Linked DNA regions of Homo sapiens: regions 1 and 2 are each linked to region 3. The links are contacts of gene promoters, found by promoter capture Hi-C in blood cells and fetal thymus (Javierre and others, 2016). All regions are on one chromosome and are shown on one strand. Each heading gives the region's core, a stretch centred on a gene start or on the middle of the fragment in contact. The rest is flanking DNA. Distances are from core to core; before and after follow the strand shown.

Region 1 (2,700 bases), core at 150-2,649, 260 kb before region 3:
CTCCAAGCGTCCCCTGACTCCTCTCTAGCTTGCCAATGTCCCTCCCAGACTGTGGCACCACTTGGGGTCTGATGAAGGCAGGGGACCAGGGGTGCTGAGCTCTGCGGTCTGAGATGCCTGGTTCCCGTGATGCCTGGAAAAGTTCCCCGCTCTGTGGCTTTGGCCGGCCCTGCCATGCTGACCACGGGTGACGCTCCAGTCGGCCCTGACACATAGTTTGTTGGCCGACATCGTGTTGTGTATTTCTCAATACAAAATAAAAAATGTTAAGTCTCACTTAGCAACTATACCCACGTGCCCACGGCCTCTCAGCCACCCTCAGAGCACTGGCGACCACAGCGAGCTGGGCAGCAGGGATCCTGTCCACCTAGAGCACCTGCCATGCGTGGGCTTGTGCTGGGACACCATCTAGTGACATCTGCTCTGGAAGAGGTCAGGAGAAAGGACCAGGCTCAGGGCTGTCCCCGACGTGCCTGGAACTAGCGTGTTCATAATGAAAGGAGATGTCTGTGATGAGAGGAAGGCAGGAGAGTAACCTCCAACTGCGTCCTTTTTAGGATGGCTCACAGGCCACTTTCCCTCACCCCAAATTGGAAGGTGAAGAGTGAAGGGCAAGTGCAAAGTGGGGTCATTTCAAGCTCATCCGTCCCGAGTCCGACTCTAGCCGTAGGACACAGGACAAACGCTTCGCACTGACCTCCGCCGGGATGCTGGGGACGGCGGGCGCGATACCGTTCTCCGCGCTGACGCTCCCGGAGCTGTTGTTGGGTGAGCTGGGTCCGGAGCCTGGGGCGCTGCTGCACGCGGAGTCTGCGGAGGCAGAAATACCCTGGTGAGTGTTACTCCATGCGGAGGGAGGGCCGTGCTGACCTGTGGCCCGAATGCCCGGTGCCTTCCACGGACCTGCTCGTTAGCTTGCGACAGGCAGAAGTCCCAACAAAAAGAACATGGCCATGGTTTCAAAAAAGAAAGTATGATGCTGATTTCTGATTTTCCAGTTTTGCCACTGACTTCACTTTTTCTAGGACATGTACGTTACCAATTTTATACCTCGTTTGATTTTCAAGACAATTTTAAACACCAAAAAGATAAATCCTTAAACACTTATTAGTGACCTAACAACAGAAGACCAGAAAATGCAGAAGCTAAGTGACTTTGAAAAGCAAAAGGTCAGCTTTCCTGTGCTCACTATAAAAAGCTTAGTTCAAAATAAAGCAACCTACTATTAGTGTTCACTCTGAGCTGAATCCTCTCATTTTCCCTACATAGCAGCAAGCATCCAGGGGAAAATATAGCCAGTGTCTCCTGAGATCTATCCGTGCTACTGGAAAACACACGCTCGGACAGTCTTAGAGGATCTTTAACCATCGGTGCGGCTTGACCCTGGTTAATGAGACCAGGTTCCGCTCTGACTGAATGTGACTTCCAAAAGGGGCCACGTCCAATCCAAAGATCCCTTCACCTCTGAAGGGGTCTGCTGCTATTTTGGGCACACACATCCACCGTGGGAGGCCGCTGAGGCTCTCGATATTCACACAAGGATTTGTTTGGCTTGTCATATGTTTAGTTTAACGGCATTTTAACAATGGCATCATCTGGTTAAAGCTTTCCAAAGAAAACACAATGTGACCCATTTGCCTCGAGAACTCTAGGCGTCTGCTGTTCAGCAACGACTCTGGGTGCTCAGAACCTCGCCCCAACCTATATGCGCAGCGCATACAGGTCAGAAGGAAGGGACATGGTGGGGGCCCTGGAGGGGAGGTTAAGGGATGTTTTCCCCAAGCAGCCCCTCAACGGAGCCATCCCCAGCAAAGCCTCCTCCACGGTCTGCTTGCTGCCCGCGTCCTCCTGGAGCCCACGAGGACGCAGGTGCCCACTCATGCTGACTCACGTGGTATCCACGCCTGCTGGAGGTGGTGACTCTGCAAATATAGCCCCGAGCCACAGTGAGGAGGATGAGGAGGGTGGGGGAACAGGTAAAGCCACCCACAGCTCCCCCAACCTGGCAGACCTGATTCCAAACTTTGCCTTTATTAGCTCATCCATCTCTCAGTCACTGTTTGAGGAAGGTGCCATTATGACCCCGTTTCCCAGAAGAGGAGATGGAGGCATGGAGCAGCAACATCACTCGTCCCAGGCCACGTGGCTTGAGGGAACTGTCATGGGCGTCTGCATACCAGAGTTAACCCAGCTGGGTGGTGAAGGCGCACCTCCTCTGTTGACCACGCTGCCCACCAGGAACACCCTGGGAACATCTTGCCCTCAACAGCAGGGCAGTCTAAACCTCCCAAGGGCAAACCAGGGTGTCCACCCAGAAGCCCTACACCAGCCGCTCCCCATGGCTCTTGGAGCTCAAAAGAGTGTGGGGTCAGCTCACTGTCCTGGGCATTGAGCATGAATACAGGACTGGGTCCCGACCCTACCCCATCCTCTTTCTTTCCCTGGCCCTCTCACCCTCTCACTTCCACCAGACACTAACTCCAGAGGTAGGCTTCTCCCGCTGCCGAGGCCATGTTATTTGCACTGTGAGTGGGCATTCTGAGAATGCCACCTGGGCTGAGCCAGTGTTTGCATTTCACTCAAGAAAGCAGGACCCGCCTTCTCCAGGCCCCTCCAACTCTCCCATCTCTGCCCCACCTGCAGCCCACCGTAGCCCACCCTAGACCCCTGCTCTCTGATGTCAAGCTGTCTCCAGCTACA
Region 2 (2,700 bases), core at 190-2,689, 270 kb after region 3:
CATCCATAGGGGTCCACGGACACAGAACAATGGCATTGGTTCAGAAGACAGAGAATTTATATTTTCTTTTGGGTGCAGTAAAAATAGCCTGTGCATTCCCGGAACAGCAAGCACTGAAGATGACTGCTCAGGGCATTTTGTCTTGAAGAGAAACAAACAAACAAACTTGATTGTTGCCTGGTTGTCGAGACCCAAACAATCCCCCTCCCACCTCCGTTCATCACGGGGCCCCTGCCAACCTTTCTGTATAAGAGGGGCTTGCTTTTAGCTTCTCTATGGGAGAGCCAAGCCAGGTTGGGTGGCGTCTGCATGGGTTTTGGATGAAGACAATTTGCCCATTCCCAACTCTGGGACAGCTCGGCAATTCCTGCCTGGCGGGCAAGGGAGGAGCTCTCCAGAGAGTGTTGTCTTCCCTCAGCCAGACCCCTCGGTCTCCCTTCCCTCCTCCTCCAGCCAAGAGAAACAAACTCTGCAAAGGACCTGCTGACAACAGTGGTGAATGGGCTGCAACGGGTGGCAGTGCTCCTTGGCTGGGCCCCGCATGGCCCCTACCATGGCTTGCTCAGTAAACACAATGATTAGAGCACCCAGAGGGGCCCACAGGCCTGGGCATTTCCAGCATTTGAATGTCTCTTGAGTTTAAATCACTTCTCACCAAACTGGTCCAGGCCAAGGCCCCAGAAGAAGGGATGGGATTACATGGGTTTCCTAGTGCAGAGAAAAGCTGGTCCAGAGGGGTTGGCTGGCACACCCTGCCCACGTGCACCTTGGAAGGAGGATGAGTTGACACAGTGCATATGGGTAGGCAGTTTCCTTATACTCTGTACCTGATGAGGATAGGATAACGCTGCGGTCTCCACACATGCAAACAGACACGCATGTGTATGCACACACAGGCAGGCACACACCCTCAAACACACATACACTCACATGTATGTATACACACATGAGCACACCTCCACATGCACACACAGATGTGTATATACACTGGCATGCACACATCCTCAAACACATGCATATACTCACATGTATGGATACACACATGAGCACACCTCCACATGCACACACAGACATGCATACACACACACAGGCATGCACACACCCTGATATACATGCATATACTGACATATATGTATACACACAAGCACACCTCCACATGCACACTCACACACATGCACACACAGGCCTGCACACATGCTCTAACTTATGCACACACCTCAAATATGGAGAGGCTCTGGCTAAACACGACTGCCTAGAAAAGCCTTGAGCCTCACTGCAACTCAGGGTACACACAGAGCAGACGCCCCTGCTCTCCTTAGCGGTGCTTCCAGTTTCTGGATTATTGGGCAAAGGTTCAACCTTTGGCCTTTGGTATGGGAAGCCCTCACCTCTTCAGTGGCACATGAAGTCAACCAGACCACAGAGGTGAGATGACAGCAGCCATGTGCCATCAGCCACCTCCTGCCCTGCCCGACACCAAGACCTCTGGAGCCCTGGGGACGCCATCATGCTTTCCTGGGTGGACAAGCCCTCCCCAAAACCTCCCTCTTTCCCTGGAAATGGCTGCTGCAACACTACAGCCTCTCGCCCACTTTGCAACACCAGCTCCCAAACTCTAGGGGGATGCAGCACCTACAGAAATGTGTCTGAGTTCCTGACATGGGGGCCAGCTTCTAGAAGGGCCTGAGCCTGAGGGAGTCCCCTCTGTCTCCCAGCTCCTTCCTGGTACTCACAGATGGCCCCAATTATGAATGAACCCAGCTGGAGCATGGGCTGTAAGGGCTCTGCCCCAGGGGACGCAGGGTCCCTGGGAGGTGAAGCATCCACGGTTCTTCTTGAATTAGCAATCCGCAGTGAGCTGACAAGCAGGGCTCGCCACAAGGGGAAGGAGGGAACATCTGGGAGCTGTGTGCCCTGTGTGAGGGTGGCAACCAGAGAGGGGATGCCGGGAGGGTGATGAGGCTGGGCTGGGAAGCCTTCCCTCCCTCTAGTGCCCTGTGGGGCTGTCTCTGAAGAACACTGGGCAAGTTGGTCTCAGCCGGGGCCCCACAGGACACCAGGCAGCGCCCTCAGAGGAGGTGACTGAGTGTATGAAGGGCCCTGGTCAGAAGTGGGGGCAGAGTTAGAGAAATCTGGGGCTGAGAACAGTGACATGGCGGGGTGGTGAGAGCGACCTGTGGCCACCGTGGGAGAGGGATGCCAGGCAGGACTGAGGCCCTCAGCTCGTGGAGAGGATGCCGCTGCAAAGCTGCCACAGGTGAGGAGGGAGTTAGAGGATGAATGTGCCGCAGGCCCCTTTCCTGCTGCTTTTCTCTGGTGTCTGCCAGCCCAGCCAGGGCCAAGGATGCCGAGCATGGGGCACCCACCTCCCCAAGCAAGGCCAGAAGGTGGCTGTGCAGGAGCAGGTAAGGGACGCGGAGCCGGATGTGGAACTGGGCGGGAGGGCGAACATGAGACGAGTGAGGATGAAGAACTCGGGGATGGTGGCTCCTCGCTGGATGCCCAGCTCCATGCCCAACCCTGCTCCTGGCCTGTGCTGTAAGGAACTGCAGTTCCCCAGGCTCTGCCTCTGATTTCTGGATAGTTTCAGCCACGGAGGAACAGTTGGAAGATGATAAGACAGAAGAAGTTGAGGTGCCAGGACACTTCTCTTCCCTCTGCCTCATGTGCCGTCTCCTGCTGTAGCTGCATCTGCCTCCC
Region 3 (2,811 bases), core at 109-2,608:
GGTGATTTGTGGGAATAAACAGAAAAGCCTGAACAGAGAAAAACGGGGCGGCAAAGTGACTGCACAGGCCCTTTCCTCCCTCACGGAGAGCAAGCAGAACTGCTCTCAGCAAGCAATTAGGTAGGTCTCTACAGTCATGCAATTAGGATTTAGTGAAGAAAGTCATTAGTTTTAAAATAACTTAAGTTTAATTTCTGCAACGCTTTATTTGAAAACTGTGTCACAGCAGGTCAATTTACAACATGCAATAAAGAAAACACTCATATCAGCTGCCTCAAGTTATTACAAATTTTTGATGTGCATTAAATGAGTACACTGGGTTCCACCCCCGGCCTTTCCAACTGATACGCACGGTCTCCTCCTATAACAGTGTCAAATAATTCAACGCTCAATGTAAATACGAGATAATTTGCTTATGATTCCGTGGTGTGTTTTCGCAACGCCGGCAAACGCGGATCCCACCCCCGAGCGGGACCGGGCCCCGTCTCGGCCTGCTGGCGCCCTGCGGGCTGAGCCGAGCGGGTCCCGGGCAGCCCCCCGCCCTCCCGCGACCCCCCGGGCGCTCGCAGCGGCGACGACAAGCGCGGGGCCGCGGACCCCCGGCAGGGACGTTTTTCTGCAAACTCACAGCATTTGACAAAGTTACATAAACGGCGCCCGGCCGGCCCCGGCGCCCGCCCGCCCCCGCCCTCACTCCCGGCGGCCCGGAGCCCACCTGCTCGGGGGGCGCGGGCCCCGCACCGGGAGACGGCGCCGCTGCCTGCCGTGCCCACCCCCGCGCCCCCGCCCCGGCGGGCGAAGCCGCCTCGCGGCGCGGGTGGAAAGGTCCAGAAGGGGCCGGGCGGCCCTGGGGACCGGCGGGTCCCACGGCGCGCGGCCAGCGCTGGCCCCCGCCTCCCACGGCCGCGCGCGGGGCGGGTGTGGACCGGCGGCGTCCACCTGCCGCGGGCTCCAAGGCCTGCAGGCTGCGCGGGGCGCGGGGCGGGCGGCGGACAATGGCCCGCGGGCGCCGGGCCGGGGCTGCGCTTACCGCGGCGGGCGGCGGCGGCCGGCTCTAGCCCTGCTCCGGCGCTCCGCGCCGCATCTCCTCAGCCTGCGCCGCCACCCGCCGGCGCGCGGGCTCGGGCTCGGGCGGCGACAGCCGGGACGCGGCCACGGCGCCGCCGGGGGCCCAGGCTGGGAGGCTGTTCGGGCGGCGGCGGCGGCGGCGCGGGCGGGTGCGCGGGCTCGGGCTCGGGCTCGGGCGGCGGCGGGGACGGTGCTCCGCGGCGGCGGCCCCACAACCTCCCCTCCTCATTCACAAAAAATTGACCCACGTTGAACCATGATGCTTCTCCCCACTCCAGCGTCGAGCCAGGCGGCGATAGGCCACCCCGCACGCCCGTCAGCCGGCCCGGCCCCGCCCAGCCAGCCGGCGGCTCGCCAACCATTGGCTGCGGCAGCCTTGCGTCACCTCCCCTTGCGGGCCCCGCCCTCCCGCCTGGTTTCTAATGAAGAGCTCGTCAATTACGGCTCGGCCCCGCCTCCCGCCCGCCCGCCCCGGGCGCCTGGCCGGCCTTCCATTGGCCCGCTGAAACCTGCGCACAGCCCGTCTGCTCCCACCCCTCGCCCAGCGGCTGCTCAACCGCGGGGCCGGATGCCCTATGAGCGGCAGAGAGGCTCCACCCCTGCCCGCCTCCCCGCACGCGTCCTGGACCTCATTGGCTGCTGGAGCTGCCAATTCTAGAGGGTGGGGCGTACCAAAAGACGCTCCAGGCGCCAGCCGCTGGGTGCTTCGCGGTTGAGGAGGCGCAGGGACCGGGGGCCAGTAGTGGCCGTAAACACGGGCCCCGGCCGTGTCCGGTCGCACTCGGTAGCCCGCATGGCTGCCTAGCGGTCAGCACCGCATGTCTGCGAGCCTAATTCGCGCTTAGAGGGCACACAATGGGGTGCAGGCTAACGCGGGGAGCCGGCCAGGCCTCGCCGCGGCGTCCATCTTGGATACTGGCAGTGGGTCACGTGGTGCTGCGTGCGCACGGAGGCGCAGGGCGGCCCGGTCACTGAGTGCGCAGGCGCCGTGGGCCTCGCCCTGCCCCGCGGCGGGAACGCGGCCGTGAGGGTGTGGGGTGTAGGTCCGCCAGGCCTGCAACGGCTGCCGAGGGTCGTGGGATGCGCTCGCCGCGTCCCTGCTCAGGCGGAGGGAGCCCGGCCCGCCGCCAGGGTCTCGAGTCCGGGTCCAGGCAGGCGTGGAGGTGGCGGGAACGGCGCACCGCCCGGGTGGGCGTTGTTTTAAGGCCGCAGGGCTTGGGAGGCTTGTGTTGAGTTACAGGTCGGCCCGTAGATCCCCGGAAGCGCCTTTGGTTGCCAGCAGGTGTCGGCGAGGGTCTTCAGTGGCCACCCTCCTGGTGGTGATGTTTCCGTTTCTTTCCAACAGGAGTATGACAACTTTTCAACTTGAGTGCACACACTGTCCCCGGAATCCCGCGTTCCAGGGAGGAAGCGCCTTTGACAGCGCGCGCCGGTTCGTGGGGCCCGACGGCGTGGGCCTGTGGTTGCGGACCTGGCGGAGATGCGCGTTCGCTTCGATTGTAGGCCATTCCTTTTAGGAGCTGAGAAAGGATCCGTTTTTACAGCATTCTCGACCTGTGATTCTTGGTGGGGGAAACTAGTTATGTGGATAAAAATACAGTTAGCAAAATAAAAATGCCAATTTTACATTTCCTTAAATATCTCATTAATAATTAGAAAACTTTGGTCATTGCAAGAAATGCTTAGGCTAAACTTAGAAGGAAAGGAATGGTGAATTAGAGAACTTTAAAACAAGATACAGCT

The links. The method cuts DNA at HindIII sites, captures the fragments that hold promoters and counts their contacts. A CHiCAGO score of 5 or more calls a contact.
Region 1: a fragment that was not itself captured here is called in contact with the fragment with the promoter of HDAC4 in region 3 in 11 of 17 cell types (naive CD8 T cells, naive CD4 T cells, activated CD4 T cells and 8 more); the score reaches 13.0 in naive CD8 T cells.
Region 2: a contact is called between a fragment that was not itself captured here and the fragment with the promoter of HDAC4 in region 3, in 1 of 17 cell types (neutrophils). The highest score is 9.0, in neutrophils.

Annotation. Positions count from the first base shown.
Region 1 is chr2:239,138,987-239,141,686 of GRCh38, forward strand. HDAC4 (histone deacetylase 4) reads right to left here. Exons shown (of 27, transcript NM_001378414.1): 9 at 698-810. Among named protein-coding and RNA genes, the nearest start is that of HDAC4-AS2, 53 kb to the right of the region's middle. The HindIII fragment of the contact is 407 bases long and covers 1,197-1,603 here.
Region 2 is chr2:239,667,855-239,670,554 of GRCh38, forward strand. No RefSeq gene overlaps it. Among named protein-coding and RNA genes, the nearest start is that of LINC02991, 91 kb to the left of the region's middle. The HindIII fragment of the contact is 7,126 bases long and covers 1-2,700 here.
Region 3 is chr2:239,399,662-239,402,472 of GRCh38, forward strand. It overlaps HDAC4 (histone deacetylase 4), which reads right to left and starts at 1,359. Exons shown (of 27, transcript NM_001378414.1): 1 at 1,317-1,359. HDAC4-AS1 (HDAC4 antisense RNA 1) reads left to right here and starts at 1,775. Exons shown (of 2, transcript NR_135575.1): 1 at 1,775-1,875; 2 at 2,414-2,696. RefSeq lists silencers at 1,008-1,177, 1,188-1,627, 1,648-1,767, 2,038-2,307 and an enhancer at 2,438-2,567. The HindIII fragment of the contact is 12,493 bases long and covers 1-2,811 here.